Regions from separate parts of the Homo sapiens genome. Here regions 1, 2 and 4 are each linked to region 3. The links are contacts of gene promoters, found by promoter capture Hi-C in blood cells and fetal thymus (Javierre and others, 2016). All regions are on one chromosome and are shown on one strand. Each heading gives the region's core, a stretch centred on a gene start or on the middle of the fragment in contact. The rest is flanking DNA. Distances are from core to core; before and after follow the strand shown.

What was found. The method cuts DNA at HindIII sites, captures the fragments that hold promoters and counts their contacts. A CHiCAGO score of 5 or more calls a contact.
Region 1: a fragment that was not itself captured here is called in contact with the fragment with the promoter of PEX12 in region 3 in 5 of 17 cell types (non-activated CD4 T cells, activated CD4 T cells, total CD8 T cells and 2 more); the score reaches 7.9 in non-activated CD4 T cells.
Region 2: a contact is called between a fragment that was not itself captured here and the fragment with the promoter of PEX12 in region 3, in 1 of 17 cell types (total CD4 T cells). The highest score is 6.4, in total CD4 T cells.
Region 4: a contact is called between a fragment that was not itself captured here and the fragment with the promoter of PEX12 in region 3, in 4 of 17 cell types (activated CD4 T cells, total CD4 T cells, total CD8 T cells and 1 more). The highest score is 7.2, in activated CD4 T cells.

What each region holds. Positions count from the first base shown.
Region 1 is chr17:35,060,285-35,063,410 of GRCh38, reverse strand. The region is part of intron 1 of RFFL (ring finger and FYVE like domain containing E3 ubiquitin protein ligase); the gene reads left to right. All of the region lies in intron 5 of RAD51L3-RFFL (RAD51L3-RFFL readthrough), which reads left to right. Among named protein-coding and RNA genes, the nearest start is that of RFFL, 1.9 kb to the left of the region's middle. RefSeq lists an enhancer at 1-153. The HindIII fragment of the contact is 1,520 bases long and covers 755-2,274 here.
Region 2 is chr17:35,038,351-35,041,240 of GRCh38, reverse strand. The region is part of intron 1 of RFFL (ring finger and FYVE like domain containing E3 ubiquitin protein ligase); the gene reads left to right. All of the region lies in intron 5 of RAD51L3-RFFL (RAD51L3-RFFL readthrough), which reads left to right. Among named protein-coding and RNA genes, the nearest start is that of RFFL, 24 kb to the left of the region's middle. The HindIII fragment of the contact is 4,406 bases long and covers 1-2,890 here.
Region 3 is chr17:35,577,321-35,580,476 of GRCh38, reverse strand. PEX12 (peroxisomal biogenesis factor 12) reads left to right here and starts at 1,906. Exons shown (of 3, transcript NM_000286.3): 1 at 1,906-2,581; 2 at 2,886-3,156. The coding sequence starts at 2,456. RefSeq lists an enhancer at 1,827-2,642. The HindIII fragment of the contact is 3,440 bases long and covers 659-3,156 here.
Region 4 is chr17:35,014,712-35,017,481 of GRCh38, reverse strand. RFFL (ring finger and FYVE like domain containing E3 ubiquitin protein ligase) reads left to right here. Exons shown (of 7, transcript NM_001017368.2): 5 at 902-1,112; 6 at 2,719-2,742. RAD51L3-RFFL (RAD51L3-RFFL readthrough) reads left to right here. Exons shown (of 7, transcript NR_037714.1): 6 at 902-1,112. Among named protein-coding and RNA genes, the nearest start is that of LIG3, 36 kb to the right of the region's middle. The HindIII fragment of the contact is 6,276 bases long and covers 1-2,770 here.

The DNA.
Region 1 (3,126 bases), core at 265-2,764, 520 kb after region 3:
TGATCTCGGCTCACTGCAACCTTCACCTCCCGGGTTCAAGTGATTCTCCTGCCTCAGCCTCCCAAGTAGCTGGGATTATAGATGTGCGCCACCATGCCCGGCTAATTTTGTATTTTTAGTAGAGACAGGGTTTTGCTGTGTTGGTCAGTCTGGTTTCGAACTCCCAAGCTCAGGTGATCCACCCTCCTCAGCCTCCCAAAGTGCTGGAATTATAGGCATGAGCCACGGCCCCCGGCCAGAAGTTTTCTTTCATTTGAGTTCTGGATGTGGAGTTAGGTCCAATTAAATCACTGATTATATAAATCTTAGAAAAGTAAAACGTTAGGTTTACAGCTTTATCCGTCATTTGCTCTTGTATTTTGTTTTTTTGTGTGTATCTTGTGAGAAACACTTTAGTCAAACTAAGCCATTGTTAAAGGAAAAGAAGTGAAGGCATTTGGTTGCCTTCCTAATAACTAAATATTGAGTTGTGGAGAACACTGTCTTATCAGTGAGTTTGTTCCCATATTCCTTTCTGAATTAATAGGAAGAACCTCCCTCATCTCTAATTCTACTAGGCTACTACTCTATCTCCCTCCTGCTTTTCATCGCCAAACTTTTGAGTCCTTCACCTAATCAGACTATGATATCTCTAGGTAGTCGTCACCCTCCAAATTACGTTTCTGCTCCTTATAATTCCAACAAATTGCCCACGTTCTCTTTCACCTCAGACCTTAGCATATGTAAGCGTTCTTTTACACACCTTCCCCAAGCTTAATCTGGCCAACTGGTTTCAGCCTAGAAGTCACCTCTTCCATGAAGCCTCTTCTTACTTACCAGGGTTGAGTACTCAGGAGAACCTGGTATTTACTCCAATCATAGTATGTATTGAGAATCAGGGTCTGCTTTGCTAGAATTGTATCCATGGTACGTTGCACATAGTAGGTTCTCAGTAAGGGTAGAATGAGCAAGAGCCTGTACTGTACTTTCTCAACTCTGATCCTCTCATCAACTCTTTTTTTTTTCTTCTGAGAGGAATCTTGCTCTGTCACCCAGGCTGCAGTGCAGTGGTGTGATCTTAGCTCACTGCAACCTCTGCCTTCCTGGTTCAAGCGATTCTCCTGCCTTAGCCTCCTGAGTTGCTGGGACTACAGGTACGTGCCACCACGCCCAGCTAATTTTTGTATTTTTAGTAGAGACAGTGTTTCACCATGTTGGCGAGGATGGTCTCGATCTCTTGACCTCATGGTCCACCTGCCTTGGCCTCCCAAAGTGCTGGGTTTACAGGTGTGAGCCACCGCGCCCGGCCTTGTTCATTCTTTTTATGCTCACATCTTTAAATGTGCTAAACCCTGTTGATTTTGTTGGAGTACTGTTTGATGTGTGGCTTTTCTTCATTCCCACTGTCATTGCCTTAATTTACCAGAGGTCAAAACTGGACGTTTAAAGTCAGGCTGGGCACGGTGGCTCACGCCTGTAATCCCAGCACTTTGGGAGGCCGAGGTGGGCAGATCACCTGAGGTCAGGAGTTTGAGACCAGCCTGGCTAACATGGTGAAACCCCATCTCTACTAAAAACAAAAAATTAGCTGGGCGTGGTGGCACGTGCCTATAATCCCAGTTACTCAGGATGCTGAAGCAGGAGAATCACTTGAACCCAGGAGGTGGAGGTTGCAGTGAGCGAGGATCACACCACTGCACTCCAGCCTGAGCAACAGTGAGACTCCATATCAAAAAAAAAAAAGAGTTTGAGACCATCCTGGCCAACATGGTGAAACCCTGTCTGTATTTAAAAAAAAAAAAAAAGGCACGCCACGCATGGTGGCCAGTGCCTGTGGTACCAGCTACCCAGCAGGCTGAGAAAAGAGAATTGCTTGCACCCAGGAGGTGGAGGTTTCAATGAGCTGAGATTGTGCCACTGAACTCCAGCCTAGGCACAGAAGAAGACTCCATCCCAAAAATCAATCAGTCAGCCTAAGGGCTTAAAATTTTGTGTGTGAATACTTTTAGGCACCATCAGAGAGAAGGCCTGTACTCTTCAAAGATTACGGATACCACCATTTTCTGACATCTTACACACTGAAGACTTAGCATTTTACCTGCATTGCCTCTAGGAATTTGAGTTTGTAACTCCTAGTTCAGACCCTTATCAAATGGCCACTCCTCCATAAGTCTTTCCTTGCTCCTATCTTCTCCATATTGTTGCCCAAGTTATCTTTTTAAAGTCCACATCTAATCTTTTCATTTAAGGTGCCATTTGTTCCCTGTTTTCCACTTAGCTTGACTTCTAAAAGCTTTCACAGTTGGATTCTTTCCTACATGTTGCTGTTAACCATCTCATCTCCCTCTCCCCTGGCCATTTCTCTCCTCTCCAGCTTCACTGAACTTCTCATGTTAACATTCCATGGATATACCATGTCTTTTAGGACTCTGCCTTTTCCCAATGGACTCTCCCTTCTCTAACTGGCAAGATACTCATCCCTCAGGACACTTAGTTCATATATGCATCTTCTCTGACTTCTCTGTCTTTTCTGACAGACAGCACTGTCTGTCTCTTCCACTAGACTGTTGAGTTCTTTGACTGAACTTGGTGTCCCTGGACTAGAGCTTGGCACCATCAGAGAGAGTGGCTGACGTGGATCTCCGGGCTCAAACCGTTATTCTTTGCAATATTAGAAGCTTTTTTGTTAGATGGCATGGTTTTTCATTCCTATTTGATGAACATGAGCCCATGGCTGCTTATTTTGTATGTGTTACCTGCCACCATCAAGTAATCATTCAAAGTTAATTTGAAGATTTAAAGGGTTTGCTGAGATCTAGTCCCGCAATATCACGACATTTTTATGGTGTTTTACAAAATTATTTCCCTCATATGGTTTTATTTGCGTTGGGTAGGCTTTATTTATTATCCCTATTTTACCAGTGATTATAAAGCTAGTCTGATACCAAAGCATATATACATTTAGGTAAGACTCAGAGAGAAAACATGGTTCTTACACTGCATTAAGCAGCTGGTTTGTCTCTTAATATAGTAGTTAAATATACTCTATCAGGTTCCACAGAAATGGTGCCTTTGCTCGATAGGCAAGTGCTAACGGTCTTGCCTTTTACAAGGCCACTTTATCATCAAGGTAGGAGGAGGAGGTAC
Region 2 (2,890 bases), core at 83-2,582, 540 kb after region 3:
AAGAATTAAAGCTAGGAAACCCGTTAGGAGGCTGTTCTTTTACCCAAGAAGCCATTCTAGACTCTGGAAATTCGGTAGAGCACAAAGTCCCTGCCCTCATGGGGTTTCTATTCTAGTTAGGGAAAGCAGTTAATAAATAAGCAAATAATATCAGCTAATACCAAATGTTATGGTGAAATTAGAAAATGACATTAAAAGGCTGGTCGTGGTAGCTCACACCTGTAATCCCAGAGCTTTGGGAGCCTGACGCAGGAGGATCCTTAGAGCCCAGGAGTTCGAGATTACAGTGAGCTATGATCAAGCCACTGCACTCCAGCTTGGAGAGAGACCCTATCTCTCTCTCCCTCACACACACACACACACACACACACACACCAAAAAAAAAAAAAAAAAAAAAAAGACATTAAAGCTGATGTTTGGATGACAAGAAGGAGCTAAGCATAGGAAGTTCTAGGGAGACCAATCCAGGCAGAAGGAACAAACAACAAATCTAAAGGGCCTAAGGAGGGAAATGTGATTAATATATGAAAGATGATGTTTTAACCCACCAGCAGGAGCAGGGGAGATGAAGGTAGGAATTTATGCATCTTTGATTTAAGAAAAGTATTTTTTATTTTTTTTTTACTTTTTTTTTTTTTGAGAGAGAGTCTCGCTCTGTCGCCCAGGTTGGAGTGCAGTGGCATGATCTCAGCTCACTGCAACCTCTGCCTTCCAGGTTCAAGTGATTCTCCTACCTCAGCCTCCCAAGTGGCTGGGACTATAGGTGCCTGCCACCATGCCTGGCTAATTTTTTATATTTTTAGTAGAGACGGGGTTTCACCATGTTGGCCAGGCTGGTCTTGAACTCCCGACCTCAAGTGATCTGCCCGCCTTGGCCTCCCAAAGTGCTGGGATTACAGGTGTGAGCCACCACACCCGGCCAAGAAAGGTATTTAAAGCAACCTGAGGTGTGGTTGGAGAGGGAGGCCTAAGACAGCCTGGACACTCACAACATTTAAGAACAGAGGGAGGGGTAAGAAGCAGCAAAAAGGCTTTGAGGTAGGAGGAAAGCCACGGGGGCAGAGTGCTAGAAGCTAAGAGATGTTTAGAGGGGGAGAGTCGCTTGTGTCCAGCATTGCTGAGAGATTAAGATGAGGATAGAGAAGTGTCAATTAGATCTGGCCACTTGGAATTCCTTGGTGACCTTGAAGAGATTAGGAATGGTGGTTGGCTCAAGCTAGATTGGAGAAGGTTTAAGAGTGAATTAGAGGTTAAGAAAGTGGAGTCGGCCAGATGCGGTGGCTCATGCCTGTAATCCCAGCACTTTGGGAGGCCGAGGTGGGCAGATCACCTGTGGTTGGGTGTTTGAGACCAGTCTGACCGACATGGAGAAGCCGTCTCTACTAAAAATACAAAATTAGCTGGGCATGGAGTTGTATGCCTGTAATCCCAGATACTCGGGAGGCTGAGGCAGGAGAATTGCTTGAACCCGGGAGGCAGAGGTTGCAGTGAACTGAGATCGTGCCATTGCACTCCAGCCTGGGCAACAAGAGTGAAATTCCGTTTCAAAAAAAAAAAGTGGAGTCAAATATTTGGAGAAATTTGATTTAGAGGAGATCACAGAAAAAGAGCTTTACTGGGGAGGGGGAGAATGTGGGGTCAAAATGGGGTTTTATTTTTTATTTTTTTGTTATTTTTTACAAATTACAAATATTTGACTAGGTGCTTTAAAAAATCTGTCATTGGCTGGGCGTTGTGGCTCATGCCTATAAGCCCAGCACTTTGGGAGGCCGAGGTGGGCGGATCATGACGTTAGGAGATCAAGACCATCCTGCCCAACATGGTGAAACGCCGTCTCTACTAAAAATACAAAAATTAGCTGGGTGTGATGGCACGTGCCTGTAATCCCAGCTACTCGGGAGGCTGAGGCGTGAGAATCGCTTGAACCCAGCAGGCGGAGGTTGCAGTGAGCCGAGGTTGCGCCACTGCACTCCAGCCTGGCGACAGAGCGAGACTGCGTCTCAAAAAAAAGAAAAGAAAAAAATCTGTCATATGGGCTGGGTGCAGGGGCCCATGTCTGTAATCCCAGCACTTTGGGAGGCTGAGGCGGGTGGATTGCTTGAGCCCAGGAGTTCGAGATCAGCCTGGGCAACTTGATGAAACCCCATCTAGACAAAAAAATACAAAAAATTAGGTGTGGTGGTGCGCGCCTGTAGTCCCAGCTACTCGGCATGCTGTGGCAGGAGGATCACGTAAGCCTGGGAGGTCCAGGTTACAGTGAGCCATGGTCGCAACACTGCACTCCAGCCTGAGCAACAGAGTGAGACACCCTATCTCAAAACAAAACACAACACTCATATAAACTTTTAATTCAAATGTAACTAGAGAAGTATATAAATTATAAGTGTACAGTTCGATGAATTTTTACAAAGTCAACATATCTACATAATCAGCATTCAGAGTAAGAAACAATGTTACCAGAAGCCCCTTGGGCTGCCTTCCATCTGTAATCCTACCTCACAGGATGACCACTATCCTGATTTTGAACACCATAGTTTGCCTGTTTTTGAATTTTATGTAAAACGAATCATTTCCCATGTATTCATTTATGCCTCCTGCTTTTGCTCAACATAAGATTCATCTGTACTATTGCATGTATCAGTTGTTTGTTTTTTCTCATTGTTCTGTGAACATATCATAATTCTACCGTTGATGGACACTTCAGTTGTTTCCAGCTTGAGGCTATTACAGTAGGGCTTCCATGGATATTCCTGTATACTGTTTGGGTGAATGTATTTCTGTTGGGTATATGCCTGGAAGCAGAATTGCAAAGCCATGGAAAGAGATGTGGGTGCGCGTGTATATGCACGCGCGCGCACACACACACAAAATTTCCAAATTGGAGTAATTT
Region 3 (3,156 bases), core at 657-3,156:
ACAACCTCCGCTTCCAGGGTTCAAGCGATTCTCCTGCCTCAGCCTCCCGAGTAGCTGGGATTACAGGTATGTGCCACCACACCCAGCTAATTTTTTGTATTTCTAGTACAGACTGGGTTTCTCCATGTTGGTCAGGCTGGTCATGACCTCTTGACCTCAGGTGATCCACCCGCCTCGGCCTCCCAAAGTGCTGGGATTATAGGCGTTCTTATGCCATACGTTTAGTTAACTTTTGGAGTACTTCCATGGGACTATCAATCAAGACATCCTGCCTTCCCCTGGCTAAGAGTGAAAGACAGGGTGGAGAGGGAACTTGAACCAAGAGAGGTCAGTCAAAATTTGTATCACGAGCAGAGTCACAAACAGAAATTGGTGGAAGCTCGTTCACTGCAACAACGTTGCCTGGATAAGAACTTCTAATTCCTGTTAGGCAGTCCCAATAGTATTGTTAAGTTCCTGTTCTTTCAGGGCTGGCTTTACTTATTTTGTGAGCTACTCCATACACTTCTAATAAATTCCGTTTTAGTTTAAATTAGCCTGTTTGTTTCTGTTGCTTGTAACCAAAGATCCCTAAGTGACAAAAATGTTTAATTTCCTGCTTGATTTAGTTGATGCTACCTCTCAACTTTGTATTTTTGCTATTCACTTAAGAAAAGCTTGTACATAACAGTTACTATTAAACAAGCACCTAATATGTATCCAGGTGCTTCATATGGATAAACTATGTCTAGTCTTAAAACTCTGTAAGGTAAAAATCATATATCAATATAATGTCTTTTGGTAGAGTAAAAAACACTTTTTATAACTATAATTAAGGACAATTTGTAAGGTTTTCTCTCCTATTGGAATAACTAAATCCAAACCTTGTTTTTGAGGGTTCTCATTATGCAAACCAATTATTTTTATAACATAAGGGCCTCTAGGGCAGTAAACAATACCTTCTATTCCCAGCTATTTAGCCCAGAGGTGGCACTTCCCAGAGGAAGGGAGGAGAGGTGGAACTCTCATCCAAATTCAATAAGGCTGTGTCAGCCAACTTCAGCGAGACAAAGCTGTACATAACATAAAAGCACTTTACAAACCTTAAGGTAAATCACATTCATTTTGGTATAAAAACGGCATGAAAGGAAACTTTCTGTCAAGTGTCCCCAGTGCATGCTAGTTACAATTCATAAAGCTCCCTCTGCGTTAGTACTGTATTCATATCGCTGGTGGTGACATATACAACTGTGTTCAAGGATGGAGACCATTTTCATCCAGTATAGCAAGTGCATGCAGTTATGCTTGAATATAGCCAAAACCTGGAAGACGTTAAACTACCAGCTTGGATGAAAATTAACCGTCTCAAGTACTGAGGAACAAGCATGAACCTTTCTCAATCCAATCATCTTTCCTTATAATTGGCGGCAATAAATCTAAGGCTCCTATCTCCTGCTATGTCGCTTTAAATCATTTCTGGAAGGCTAAGACATATAAATTAACCACCATCCCTGCCGCACGCGTACAGCAAAGTCCTTTCCACCTCCAGATTCCCTTCCTCCCACCGCCCCTAGCTTCATCGCCTGCAGGAACACAGGGCTCAGCAACGGGCCCGAGCTCTGGCTCCCGGCGCCAGACGTCTGCGCGGTGCCCCAAACAGCTTGTCAAAAAGACCTCGCAGAGAGAGGTTCAGAGCTGTAGCTTTCCAGCGAGGCTACCATGCAGACCCAGCTACGAAAAGTAAACCAAACTAGCCAAAACCAGCCCACAAGGGCCCTCTTCTGTTTCAGCGGGGCGGGAGCGGAAGCTCAGGTGGGTCATAGAGTTCTCTAGTTCTGGTTTCCGGACCGCATTCGGAACTAGAGCGCCTCTCTTCCGCCAGGCATCCCAGAGGTCCTGGTGGTTTCATTTCCGGGTGCGGCTTCTGTCATAAAGCGGAGACCTCCCTTCAAACGTGGCGTCGTGGGTTGTTTGCGCCTCGCCTGGGGTCAGCGAGCAAGGACGGGCGCGGGCGGGGATACTCAAAGCCAACAGCTGGAGTCAGCCCTTGTGTCCCGGGCTCACAGTGGCACGACTGAATCCTCAGAGTCGGCTGGCTTTTGAGCTCTCACGATTGGGGAGGAGGGGGCGTTTCTGGTTCGCAGCTCCAGAGGATTGCGTTCCTTCCCCCATACCTGTCCCCCACAGTCACGCTCTGCCCTGACGTGCAGCATTTGACAAGTTACCCCCTCGCCACATACTACTTCCACCCACGTCCGAGTTAACTTTGTTCTTAACCTTCTTGAGACTACCCTCGGCCTCCAGGTCTTTTTTTCCCAGTTCATTTTTGCCCATAAGATTGAGTTTCGAGTTTCAGATATCATGCAGAAAGTTTACCTTTAAGACTGAGCACCCATCTGATACTCTTCCTCCCGAAAAAGTTCATGCTCACGAGAGAGTTTGTGGGAAAAGTGAAAGCCAGTACACGCAGGAAACTATGGCTGAGCACGGGGCTCACTTCACAGCTGCTTCTGTGGCCGATGACCAGCCATCCATCTTTGAGGTGGTAGCACAGGACAGTTTAATGACAGCAGTGAGACCCGCTCTTCAGCATGTGGTCAAGGTAAGGTATTAATTCTTGGAAAGGTTTTAGGGACAACTGGGTAAAAAACAAACGAATAATTTGTGCTTATTTGGTAGCCTAGCGTTTGAAATAGCCAATTTGCAAATAACTTGTATCCCATGACTTAAGAGTTACTGAGTCTCTGTTATGTGTAGAGACCTGTACTGAATACCCAGCATTTCAGGGTCCAACAGTGACTTATTTAAAACAAATTGTGTAGACTTTAGAGGAAAAGGGGGAATGTAAATAGGTGTAGAACTTGTGTAATGGAATGAATTTCACTTATTGCTTTATTTTGCTTTAGGTTCTTGCAGAATCAAATCCCACCCACTATGGCTTCTTGTGGAGGTGGTTTGATGAAATCTTTACTCTGCTAGATCTTCTGCTCCAGCAACATTATCTGTCTAGAACCAGTGCCTCATTTTCTGAAAACTTTTACGGCTTAAAGAGAATTGTAATGGGGGACACTCACAAGTCTCAGAGATTGGCTAGTGCTGGTCTCCCAAAGCAGCAGCTTTGGAAATCTATTATGTTCCTGGTTCTTCTTCCCTATCTGAAAGTGAAGCTGGAGAAGC
Region 4 (2,770 bases), core at 38-2,537, 560 kb after region 3:
TCACTGGTGTTCTTCGGAACCTCTTAGCAGAGTCGAGTGGAGAGAGAATAAATGTGTGATGATAGTGCTTCCGAAATTATATTTTTGGGGTAGGGTTTAGTGTTAGTGTTCCAGGTTAACTAGTGAAGCGGTCAGTGTATTTATAAGGAGTTGTGAGGTCACAGTGGAGACGGAGAAGCCTCATGGCCCATTGTATTTCCAGTCTCTTGACTTTCTAAGAGCTGCCGGAGGGCAGGCTTGTGGTCCTGCTGTTAAAGTCTTGTTCTTTCCTTGCTTCTAGCACACTGTAGCCATTGTCAAGGGAAGGAGGTCAGACAATTAGCCAGGCAGGGCCAGTCCAGAGCACAGACCAGGGAGCTGTGGCCAAGGTTGTGTATAGAGGAGTACTTGCCAGGGAAATGTGCCTCTTGTGGGCAAGCAGAAGTCTCCAGGGGAGAAGGGCCAGCACCATGCTGGGTTTCATGTGCGGCCATATTTAACCTCTACAGGACCCCTGTGGGGTAGGACTGCTCTCTCCCCTTAATGGAGGGGCAAACGGGCTCAGAGTGGTAAGCAACTTGCTGGATATTATTTAGCATTAACAGCAGAGGAGTCAAGATTCAAAATTAGGGTCATATGACTCAAACCAGCACTCCTTCTACTATACTTCTATCTAGTACTATATCACACTGATTGGTTGGTCTGTGTCTGTTTGCTCCTGAGCACAGAATCGTGGGTCAGGAAGAGATTCTAGTATATTTTGCAATGCAGAGCACCATGCCAGGTACTCATCCTGTCTCTGTTCCTACCCTTCATGAGGTCAGTCACCAAAATTATGATGTGGTGACTGCTTTGGGGTCCTTGGAGAAAGAGCTTGGGGAGGTAAGAGCTGAGCACACTGATCTCATCTTTGTCATTGCAGTCTATTGACTCAGAGGACAGCTTTGTCCCAGGCCGAAGGGCCTCTCTGTCTGACCTGACTGACCTGGAGGACATTGAAGGCCTGACAGTGCGGCAGCTGAAAGAGATCTTGGCTCGCAACTTTGTCAACTACAAGGGCTGCTGTGAGAAGTGGGAGCTGATGGAGAGAGTGACCCGGCTATACAAGGATCAGAAAGGACTCCAGCACCTGGGTGAGGGGCTATCTGCATGGTAGCTTTACAGAGCTCAGGAGTGTTTGCTGTCACTCCAAAGCATGATGGTATTGACCTGACTCAATTTCCACACTTAAGCCATGGAAGGAGACACCTTACATATTTGCACCGTCTAATAATAGCTGTCATTTGTGGTTGAGTGTCAAAACTAGATTAGGCATTGCATGTATGTATTTATTCCTTAGAGCAACCTATGAAATAGACATTATTAGCATCACCCCTTTATCTGAAAGGTAAAATTTAACTGAAAATTTTATGGTCTAAGTCCATAGCCTTTCTCACCATATGCTATCCCCTCCCTACTCACCACCACCTTGTAAGTTTTCTTACCTTAGAATAAGAATGCTTGTTCTGAAGATTTGGGAGGTAGAAAGTGAATCTACATACATGGCAGGAGAAGATAGCTGTTCCATCTGCACTTGGGCTCTTCCTTTTGTTCATTTCCCAGAGCATTTTACACTGTATCATTCAGGAGATGCCCAGGAAAATATCTGGGTCTGTGGTTAAATGAGTTTAGGGAAAAATACCTCATATCTTCATTACTGATTTATGGTAGATTTTTATATTAAAGGCAGAGAAGTCCTGCAGAAGAGAAATGTGTTTTGGCTGTTTTGAACTTAGCATTTCCTGAAATTATTTCACCACAGAATCTTCTCCTTTCCTCCCATCCCCAGTTGATTTGGTTCCTACAGAGCAACATACTGATTCCTTGCTTGGTAAGAGTGGTTGAAGTCAGGTTTCAGGCTCTCTTCTACCAGTAGCTCAAATTCATCAGTGTTAGGGGTCATCTGACTGACTCTTCACCCGATTACAGACTGAGGCCTACTGACATGGAGTCTGTTTTCCCTTTGGGATTGTTTCAAGAGTCTTCTCTCCAGTCGTCAGGACCTGGGGAACAGAACAGATGACTCCACGTGGGAACTTTATCCAGATTCTCTGACTGACTGAAACAGCTAGATAGTTCATTCTTTCTTGACTTTAATGCTGACTTCAAAATAGAAAAGGATATTGCACATATACAGTATCCTTCTACTTGGCAGTTTGTGCAAACTGGTGGAATACCTTTTCCTAAGAGTAGACCAGGCTGGGTGTGTTGGCTTATGCCTGTAATCCCAGCACTCTGGGAGGCTGAGGCAGGTGGATCACTTGAGATCAGGAGTTCAAGACCAGCATAGGCAACATGGTGAAACACCATCTCCACCAAAAACAAAAAATTAGCCGGGAGTGGTGGCATGTGCCTGTAGTCCCCAGGTACTCAGGAGGCCGAGGCAGGAGAATCGCTTGAACCCATGAGAAAGAGGTTGCAGTGAGCCAAGATCATGCCACTGCACTCCAGCCTGGGCAAGAGAGTGAGGCTCCATCTCAAAAAAATAAAAAATAAAAGTAGACCAGATGCACGAGTAGGAGCTTTGTGTGAGTTCTGAGCATGTAGAGCGAGTAGAGGGCAGATGTCCATCTAGGCTCTTGGCAAGCCTGGTTCCCAGCAGGGAGTGGTAAGAGTTCAGAAATGATGTCAGGGCAGTAAGAGACTGTATTTGTACCATCATGCCTTACCTATTCAGACATCCTTCTCTTTCCTTTTCAGTCAGTGGTGCCGAAGACCAAAACGGTATGTAGTTGTTTCTGTTTGGGAATGG